Linked DNA regions of Homo sapiens: all the other regions are linked to region 3. Evidence: promoter capture Hi-C in 16 types of primary human blood cells and fetal thymus (Javierre and others, 2016). All regions are on one chromosome and are shown on one strand. Each heading gives the region's core, a stretch centred on a gene start or on the middle of the fragment in contact. The rest is flanking DNA. Distances are from core to core; before and after follow the strand shown.

Region 1 (3,403 bases), core at 280-2,779, 240 kb before region 3:
TCTCCTCAAAAAATTGGATTTTCTTTTTTATCACATTGTCAGGCTACATATTTTCCAAACTTTCATGCTTTGTTTCCCTTTTAAAATTGAATTTCTTTAACACCATGCAAGTCACATCTTGAATGCTTTGCTGCTTAGAAATTTCTTGCATTAGATATTCTAAATCATCTCTCTTGAGTTCAAAGTTCCACAGATCTCTAGGGCAGGAGCAAAATGTCACCAGTCTCTTTGCTAAAACATAACAAGAATCACCTTTGCTCCAGTTCCCAAAGAGTTCCTCATCTCCAACTGAGACCAACTCAGCCTGAATTCTATTGTCCATATCATTATCAACATTTGGGGCTAAGCCATTCAATAAGTCTCTAGAGAGTTCCAAACTTTCCCACATTTTTCTGTCTTCTTCTGGACCCTCCAAACTGTTTCAACCTCTGCCTGTTACCCAGTTCCAAAGTCACTTCCACATTTTCAGGTTATCTTTTCAGCAGCACCCCACTCCTGGTACAAATTTACTGTATTAATCTGTTCTCATGCTGCTGATAAAAACATACCTGAGTCTGGGCAATTTACAAAAGAAAGAATTTTATTGAACTTACAGTTCCACATGGCATGGGGAGGCCCCACAATCATGGTGGGAGGTGAAAGGCACATCTCAGATGGTGACAGAAAAGAGAAGAGAGCTCCCATTTTTAAAACCATCAGATCTCATAAGACTCATTTGCTGTCATGAGAACAGCACAGGAAAAGCTCACCCCTATAATTCAGTCACCTCCCACCGGGTTCCTCTCATGACAAGTGGGAATAGTGGGAGTTACAATTCAAGATGAGATTTGGGTGGGGACACAACCAAACCATATCATATTAAAATGAGAGACTTCCCTGATCCTCCTCACAGGAAGTGTGACAGGGGTGTGGCTTGCCTGTTTGGCTGCCACCAAGCAAGCCACCACTGCTCAAACCCCTGACAGGAGGGTGAGCATGGAGATGAGCAGTTGCAGGAGCCAGAATGTGTGCTTTGGTCTCCAGCCCCATGGTAGTGTCCAGGGGTGGGTGCCTGCAGCCCCAGTGTTACAATGCTCTTTTAGCCTTGCCATCTGCAGAGGGCTTAAGTGTTAACCAGCTCAGTGAATCCTCTGCCTACCCACAAGGGCAAACGGCCAGTGTGACAGCTTTCTGCATCCCGAGCTCTTGTCCAGCATCCCAGAAGAATCAGGTCACACATGAGCTTGAAGGGTGAATGTGTAGTTATTGAAGTGGTTCTCAGTGGGATGGATGGAGAACTGGAAGGGGGAAAGAGTAAGAGGATGACCTTCCCCTGGAGTTTTGGCCATACATTGGCCAAACTCCTCTTCGATTGCCCCCAGCTGAACTCCTCTTGCTGTTCAGTCATTCCTTTTCTTCTCTCTCTCTCTCTGCCACACCATTCTGCCATTTGTCTTGTTTGTCTCCTTGTCTCGTCTCATCTGCTTCTGAAGCCTGGTGTTTGGGGTTTATATGGGTTGAGGATAAGGGGGGGCATGGTGGGCCAAAAGGCAATATTTTGGGTGCAAAAACAGAAATGCCTGTTCCTACTTAGGGCCATGGGTCTCCAGGCTTGAGAGTTAGGCCTTTGCCAGGGTACTGCCCTCTTCTACCCAGTATTTCCCTGTCTCCTGTCCATATCATTTCCCCCTCTGAGTAGGCACATCTAACTGCTGCTAGAATATGGGCGATGACCAATCTTAGCTACTTCTTGTTGACAGTGGGCATAGTTTTGGGGAAAATGGCAGTCAGATTCTTCCTAGAGGTCTATCTAAGAGTCCCTGGCAAAGGGGAACCATCGTCTGAGGGTCAGATTGCCTGACTGTTTGGAGTTTGATGGCCTCTATGTGAGAGAGAAAAAAAAAAACAAGTTTTGTAAGGTTAAGTGTGCATGCGTTAAATGTGTATTATACAAGGAAAGAATCTAGTGCCAAAGATTACAGAAATAAGAAGTGTACAGAATAAGAATGGTAATTATTCTAAAAACACTATTGTGCCCCATGGTATAGAACAGAACAAAGGTAAGAACAGCAAGCATAGGCAACACTATAAGGAGGATATCCATGGAAGTTAAATTCATAACACTTATCTTTTGTGATTTTTAGCTTGAGGTCCATGATCTCTTCACATTGGTACTTTGGGTGCTCTTCTGGGTCAACGGCGGTGACTCCATCACCTTCCCAGGCCTTTACTCAGGTATAATGAATTCAAGAGTCTATTTCTGTGACCTTCACTGCCCTAAGAGTAGAAAGAAGAAAAGTGTAAGGTCCCTCTCAACCTAGGCCTATAGAGGAAGAAAAGGAAGGAAATGCCTTTACTAGCACTAGGGACCCTAAGTTAATAATAGAGGTCGCCCTGGTTCATGGGATTGGGCCTCTGACAATTGTTGCAGTTTCTGTTGGAAATGGGCCAACGAGGTTATGTATTTAATTAAATCAGAGGTTTCTTGGTCTAGAAAGAAATAATTGGTGAGAAAAGGCTGTCCATACATCATTTCAAAGAGACTCAAACCCAGCTTTGAAGGAGTGTTTCTAATATGTAGCAAGGATATGGGGAGAAGGGTAGTCCAGCAGAGATGAGTTTCCTGAGAGTTTCTCAAAGAGACTCAAACCCAGCTTTGAAGGAGTGTTTCTAATACATAGCAGGGATAAGGGGAGAAGGGTAGTCCAGCAGAGACGAGTTTCCTGAGAGTTTCCTGAGGTACCTTTTGATAATATCATTTGTCTTTTCTACCTTTCCTAAGGACTGTGGTCTCCAGGCACAAAAAAGATGGTACTGTATACCTAGTGCTTTTGAGACCCCCTAGGTGACAGTCACCTTGAACAAAGAGCCATTATCACTCGGGAGGCACTTAGGGAGTCCAAAGTGAGGAATTATCTCATTGATTAGTACTTTTATCACCTCAGAGGTTTTCTCTGTCCAACATGGAAATTCTTCTACCCAGTTAATGAAAGCATCTATCCATACTAGGAGATTCTGGATGCCTCTTGCTTTTGGCATATGAGTGAAATCCATTTGCCAAAAGGTAGCCTTTGTCCTCTGGGTTCCTGAGGGAAGAAGCCATCAATTAAGAGGATTGTTTTTAAAGCAGGTCTCACAAGCATTATCGACCTGTTTAATTGTTTGTATAAGGTTTTTGCCTGAGAACAATCTCTGAGAGAGTTGATAAGCTTTATTCTTACCTAGGTAGAAGGACTGGTGAAGGCTTTTAAGAGTTTACCATTGGTTGGCAGCTGGTATATGAAGCTTGCCATTGTCTGATTGTAGCTATCCTGGGGACTGAAGGATGTTTCCCCAAGAGGTGGCCCATTATATTTCCACAGGAGAATATTGAGGTTTTATTTCTCTTATGGGTCCCTCCCAGATCAGTGGGGCTTCAAGTGGG
Region 2 (3,471 bases), core at 749-3,248, 140 kb before region 3:
TTGAATTGAGTACCCCAAAAATATGTATTAAAATCCTAACTTCCAGTTCCTCAGAACGTGACCTTATTTGGAAATAGGTTCTTTGTAAATATAATTACTTAAGATGGGATCATACTAGAGTAGAATGGGCCTTTAATCCAACATGACTGATACCCTTTTAAGAAGTGAAGAGTCACAGAGACAGACTCAAGGGGAAAATGCCATGTGATAATAAGGCAAGAGACTGAAGTGCTGTCATTGCAAGACAATGAATGCCTGTGTCTACCAGAAGCTGAAAGAGGCCAGGAAGGATTCTGGCCTACAGATTTCAGAGGAAGTGTATTAGTCTGGGCTACCATTTAAAAAAAAAATACCATAAACCGGGCAGCTTAATCAACATAAATTTATTTTCTCACACTTCCGGAGGCTAGAAGTCCCAGATGAAGATTTGGCAGAGTCAGTTTCTGTTTAGAGCTCTCTGTCTGGCTTGCAGATAGGATGGTCACCTTCTTGCTGTGTCCTTATATGGTGGGGTGGTGGAGGAGAGATGGGTTTCTGGTGTCTTGTCTCTAAAAACACTAATCCTGTGAGATCCAGACCCCTTCTCTTTTTTCTTTTTTTTTTTTCTTTTAAAGACGGAGTCTCACTCTGTTGCCAGACTGGAGCTCAGTGGCGCTATCTAGGCTCACTGCAACCTCCGCCCCCCAGGTTCAAGCGATTCTCTTGCCTCAGCCTCCTGACTAGCTGGGACTACAGGCACGTGCCACCACGCCCAGCTAATTCTTGTATTTTTTAGTAGAGATGGGGTTCCACATGTTGGCCAGGATGGTCTCAATCTCCTGACCTCATGATCCGCCTGCCTTGGCCTCCCAAAGTGCTGGGATTACATGCGTGAGCCACCGCGCCCGGCCCAGACCCCATCTTTATGGCTTCATTTAACCTTAATTACTTCCTTATGGGTCCTATGTCCAAATTCAGTCACATTGGGAGTTAGGACTTCAACATATAATGGCAAGGGGGTGGGGGGCACAAAATTCAGTTCATAAGGGGAAGCATGAACCTGCCAATAGTTTGAATTTGGACTTCTGGAATCCAGAATCATGAAAAAATAAATTTCTGTTGTTTTAAGCCACCCAGTTTGTGGTACTTTTGCTATGGCGGCCCAGGAAACTAATACAATATAAGAAATGCTTGCATCAATGCCTGGTACATAGTATGTATTTAATATATGTTAGCTGTTACTATTACAACTCAGGCACATTCCAATCCAGTTCCTCAAGCAATGTCATTAGAAATTTCTTTCTCTTCCTCTCTCAGCTTGTTTTCCTCTGACACTGCTGAATTCTCAGGTCGACCCTCCCTCATGGTGGTCCCTGGGAACTCCAGCCAACCAACTTAGCAGCTACAGCAAAAGGACACATTTATTTCCCTGTAGATCCCGCAACAGTCCTGGGACTGACTCTCATTGGCCTGGATGAAGTCACATGCCCATCCCTGAACCAATCATGGTAGCCAGAGGGCTTCAAAGCTTTGTCCAGACATGCCTACCCTGTAGGCATGACTGGAGTCAACTCCACTTGAACCACAAGGACTAAGAATAGAGATAAGTGGTTTGGAAAAATAAAATCAGGCTGCTAGTATCAGAAGGGACATCAGGCATCAGAAGACTGAAGAGGCCTAAAAAACAGATTACTACATGGGATTTTAGCAAACTGAAGTTTATAAACAGGATCTGTAGATCCTGCAGTTTCCACTGTGTTCAAAATACTATACTAGTAAAACTTATTGGTTGCAATTGCAAACAACAGAAACCAGGATTAATTAAATTAAACAGAAAATTATTTTTAGGGGGTTTCTGGTAGCTTGCAATGCTGAAAGGAAGGCTGGAAATCAGGCTTAAGCAGGAATGAGCAATGCTAACGCTAACACTGGCCATGATTTTTGCTGTGTTCCACCAGCCAGAGGACAGAGAAGATGGATCCCTTTGTGTCTCATCTTGCATCTGTGGCAAGAGGAGAGAACATTCTATATACTTATTTAGGGTCCCCCCCACCAAAACAAGTAGAGTGTTTGGATATTAATTTGACAAAGAGAAAGATATACAGTAGTTTTCTACTTAATGACAAGCAGGAAATAGTTATGAATAGAACAAGACCTTATAGTCTCCAGAAGCTGCAATCAAGGTACGAATGCCTTATTTAGAACTAACCAACACTCAAGGCAGAGCACTCATACGAGGCCCATAGAATGTCATCGATGAGGGAATGGGGAATGCTGCACGAGACAAATGTCAGCAAGAGAATGGGGATGATTTTGACAATAGCAGAGGAGCAAGAGTTAGGATAGAAAGAGAATTCTAGAAGTGACAGCATGAACAAAAGCATGCAGAAAAATAAAATCCAGCACATAAAATAAGGAAGACTTTTTTGTATTCAAGAAATTTGTTTTTACAGCAGCATCTCAGTGCCTCAAAGATTATCTTTAAAAACAGCTGTTACCCAACAACTACTTAAAGCTTGAAATAAAGGAAAACATTCCCACGCCAACTCTGCACTCTAAATAGAAGCTGAAAAGATAGATACAAAAATACCAAGGCCACTATGGCAGCCTGATTTGAAGCTTTTTATAAAACAAAAAGTTCTGTGGTCTCCTGAAAGGCTCACTCCTCTTGTTTGCACAATTGTTCAGTCTCTCCTGAGCCCCCACTGTCGGGATAGCAGGGAGGGAACTGAGGAAAAGCAGCCGTCTTGAACCAGAGCCAGCCTCCAATCCCTCTGCACCCATGCAAGTGTGCCTTCTCAGGGACAAGGACTATGATAAAATAAGAACATTATCACTATCATGCATTGGGTGTTTAACATGGCTAGAACTATCCAAAGCATCACACAGGTTATGTCATTTCCAACCACCCCAACAAGTGACTGGTACTGTAATCTCCATTTCACAGATGAAGAAATTGAGCCAGAGAGAAGTTAAGTCATAAAATGCCCAAGGTCACTTAGGATTCCTCATTAATTCTCAGAATAGTAACTGAAACCTCTGCAGCATTTTAGAGTTTATGAAGGCTGGTGGAGGGACAGGGAAGGAGCTTATTAAATAATTACAACGGGTCAAATTTTTGTGCAAAGCACTCTACAGATCCTAGAAATATAAAAACAAACAAAATCTATTAGGTAAATGCCCAATATGAATATAATGAATGCTAATGAACTGTAATTTAAAAATGGTTAAAATGATAAATGTTATGCTATATATATTATACCACAATAAAAAGAAATCTATCAGGTGGTACTGTGTGGCATGTGAATGCTCTAAATGCATTAGCTCATTTAAATCCTCTCAACAGCCTTGTGAAGCAGATGGCAGTGCTATCTCCAGGTGACAAATGAAGAAATGGAAGCTCCAGAGGTTAAGTAATTCACTTGGTTAGAATCACCCATCTAGTACATGCCTTCAATTAGTACTATTAGTTACAATATTATTACTGTTGTT
Region 3 (2,990 bases), core at 1-2,500:
GGAGGTGCCTGCGCACCTGCTCTGGCCACAGCAGAGCATGGAGGTGCAGGCCTGGCGGAAGCGGGGGTCGAAAAAGGCATAGAGGAAGGGGTTGAGGCAGCTGTTGACGTAGCTGATGCAGGTGCAGTAGGGGAAGATGTTCATGAGGAAGAGGTCAAAGTCACAGGGCCAGTGCAGCAGGCTGCCCAGCATGTACAGCGTCTTCACCAGGTGGTAGGGCATCCAGCACAGGGCAAAGGTCACCACCAGCACCACGATGATGCTGAGCAGCCGGCGCCGCTTCCGCAGGCCCTCGATGCGTTCCTTGCGGAAGTGGCCAGCGATGGTTTGGGCGATGAAGAAGTAACAGGTCAGCATGATGGTGAAGGGCACCACAAAGCCCACGGTGGTGGACGAGACCCCAAGGCCCACCTCCCAGGCCCACTCTGAGCTCACAGTGGCCACCATGGAGTAGTCCATGTAGCACTGCACCTTAGTGGTGTTCTCCAAGTCCCCGGTGGTGCGTAACACCATGACAGGCATGGCCAGGAGGGCGGCCAGCACCCAAAGAACTGCCGTGGCCACGGCCCCGCTGACCCGCAGCCTCAGCCGAGCATTGGCCACTGGCCTCACGATGGCCAGGTAGCGGTCGAAGCTGAGGCCGGTGAGGCAGAAGACGCTGGCGTACATGTTGACGAAGATGAGGTAGCTGCTGAGCTTGCAGAAGAAGGTCCCAAAGGGCCAGTCATAGTCCCGGTACGTGTAGGTAGCCCACAGGGGCAGCGTCACCACGAAGGTCAGGTCAGCCACCGCCAGGCTAGCAATGAAGATATCAGCTGAGCGCCTCTTCTCCCGGCTGCTCCGAAACACGGTCCAGAGCACCAGACCGTTGCCCGTGGTGCCCAGGAGGAAGACCAACATGTAGATGGCAGGGATGAGGGCCCCCGAGGATTTCCAGTCTGTGTACTCACACTCAGACTGGTTGTCTGCCCCATAGTAGTTGTCAAAATCACCACCTTCCTCCATGCTGGGGAGTGGAGAGAAGACGGGCAGAGGGTCCCAGGGACACCAGCTCCGTGGCTCTGTCACCCACTCTGCAAGCAGCCTGAATTTCTGGCTTGAGCCTCAGAGAGTAAGAAGGGCTGAAGATGCCCAGAGTCCTTCCCAGCACTCAGGAGGAGCTGCCTCTGGGTTCTCCAGACCCTGGAGGAAGCCTGTCTCCTGCAGAATTTCCTCCACCCTCTCTTGCCTTACCCCCGTCTCAGTTAAGACACTTCCTTGCACCCTCCTGCGTCCCTGTCTCCTCCTTGACTCGTCACTCCCTCCTCCCACCTCCAGACCAGCCCCTCTCTTGTGAGTCAAAATCTTTAGTGACAGCCCACTTTTTTTTTCTTTTTGTCACTGAGCAAGTGGACCAAATTGACCCCTACTGTGCTGGGCTGAACATTATCTGTGGTTTTGCAAGTCGGCTTTCCTGGCCCCGCCTCTCCTTTCTGGCTGCCACCCACCTTCACCCCAGCCCCTATCCCTCCACTTTCCTCTGGCCACCACTTCCTGCCTGCCCTTTAGGGCACTCCCTCCTCAGTGCTCTCCGCCCTCCTGTTCTCACCCCCTTCCATCCAATCTAAATGGGACACATTATGCAGATTGCAATCCAGCTTGAGCTGGAGCCAGGGCTGGTAGGGAGCAAGGAGGGTGTAAGATTTCGCAGGATGGGCAGGGCATCTGGCAGGTCCTCCTGGCAGGCAGGTCTGGCCCCCTCGGCTCCCTTCCTGCACCCCCAGCCCCCACCCAGACCAGGTGTCACAGGAGGGTCTTCTCCCACTTTGCCTCTCGCTTCATCTTTCTCTACCCCTTGGCTTTGACCCTCCCTCTGAGAACTTTTGTGGTTTCTAGAGAAATACCCCTACACTAGTGTAGACTGCAGTTTGCAGTTTGCGGAAGGCACAGGATGCTTTAGAAGGTTGAGGGCAGTCACAGGATGGAAGAAACCCAGGACAAAATTATCTCTAAACAAGTCATTAAATCTGTAGGAAACAAAGGCCCAACAAGGTCAATGTTTTGCCCAAGGTAATAAAGTGAATTATGCTACAGTTGATTGTTTGCTTTTCTTCTTCTCCAAACACGAACATAATACAGTACCTGGCATGTCGTAGGTGAATGGCTGTTTTGTTTGTTTGTTTGTTTGTTGAGACAGAGTTTCACTCTTGTTGCCCAGGCTGGTCTAGGCTCACTGCAACTTCTGCCTCCTGGGTTCAAGCGATTCTCCCGCCTCAGCCTCCCTAGTAGCTGGGATTGCAGGCTAATTTTTTTGTATTTTTAGTAGAGATGGGGATTGACCAGGCTAGTCTCAAACTCCTGACCTCAGATGATCCACCCACCTCGGCCTCCCAAAGTGCTGAAATTACAGGCATGAGCCACCACGCCCAGCCAGGTGAATGGCTGTTGAGTGAGTAAGTGGATGGATGATGTAGGAGGTGAGTGAAAAGGGGAATCCATAGATGGAAGAACAAGTGTAAGAATTACTACGTGGTGAGAACATGGATACATTTCAGTTCTCAGGTTTTTACTATCCTCCATGGACCAAGAGGTTTCTGTAAGACCACAGGGGGTCAGGAAGTTGAGCTAGAGGAGGGGGGTCTCTAGAGAAAGACTCAGTCACTGGAGGATACTGTGGGGAAAGTTCCGTAGACGCTCACTTTGCCCCAGCTCATCACCTCTCCAGGACCTCTAGGAAGGAAGGAAGATGCACGACGTAAGATTTTTTTTAAAAAATACGCACCCTTTCCACAACCTTGAAGAGTTGGGGAAGCCACCTGACGTTGGGTAATAGTGAGATGGAACAAAAGCAGGAGCTGAGCCTTAGCCACTTCCAAGGCAAAAGACTTACAAAAGCTGGAATTGGCCAGGCAAGGTGGCTCATGCCTATAATCCCAGCACTTTGGGAGGCCAAGGCAGGAAGACTGCTTGAGCCCAGGAGTTCAAGACTAGCCTGAATAACACAGCCAAGA

The links. The method cuts DNA at HindIII sites, captures the fragments that hold promoters and counts their contacts. A CHiCAGO score of 5 or more calls a contact.
Region 1: a fragment that was not itself captured here is called in contact with the fragment with the promoter of APLNR in region 3 in 1 of 17 cell types (endothelial precursors); the score reaches 6.1 in endothelial precursors.
Region 2: a fragment that was not itself captured here is called in contact with the fragment with the promoter of APLNR in region 3 in 1 of 17 cell types (endothelial precursors); the score reaches 5.2 in endothelial precursors.

What each region holds. Positions count from the first base shown.
Region 1 is chr11:56,994,232-56,997,634 of GRCh38, forward strand. No RefSeq gene overlaps it. Among named protein-coding and RNA genes, the nearest start is that of OR5AK2, 7.0 kb to the left of the region's middle. The HindIII fragment of the contact is 3,313 bases long and covers 1-3,186 here.
Region 2 is chr11:57,095,883-57,099,353 of GRCh38, forward strand. The region is part of intron 6 of LOC105369309 (a long non-coding RNA gene); the gene reads right to left. Among named protein-coding and RNA genes, the nearest start is that of LRRC55, 84 kb to the right of the region's middle. The HindIII fragment of the contact is 987 bases long and covers 1,506-2,492 here.
Region 3 is chr11:57,236,000-57,238,989 of GRCh38, forward strand. APLNR (apelin receptor) reads right to left here and starts at 1,251. Exons shown (of 1, transcript NM_005161.6): 1 at 1-1,251. The coding sequence starts at 1,005. RefSeq lists an enhancer at 893-1,525. The HindIII fragment of the contact is 5,179 bases long and covers 1-2,990 here.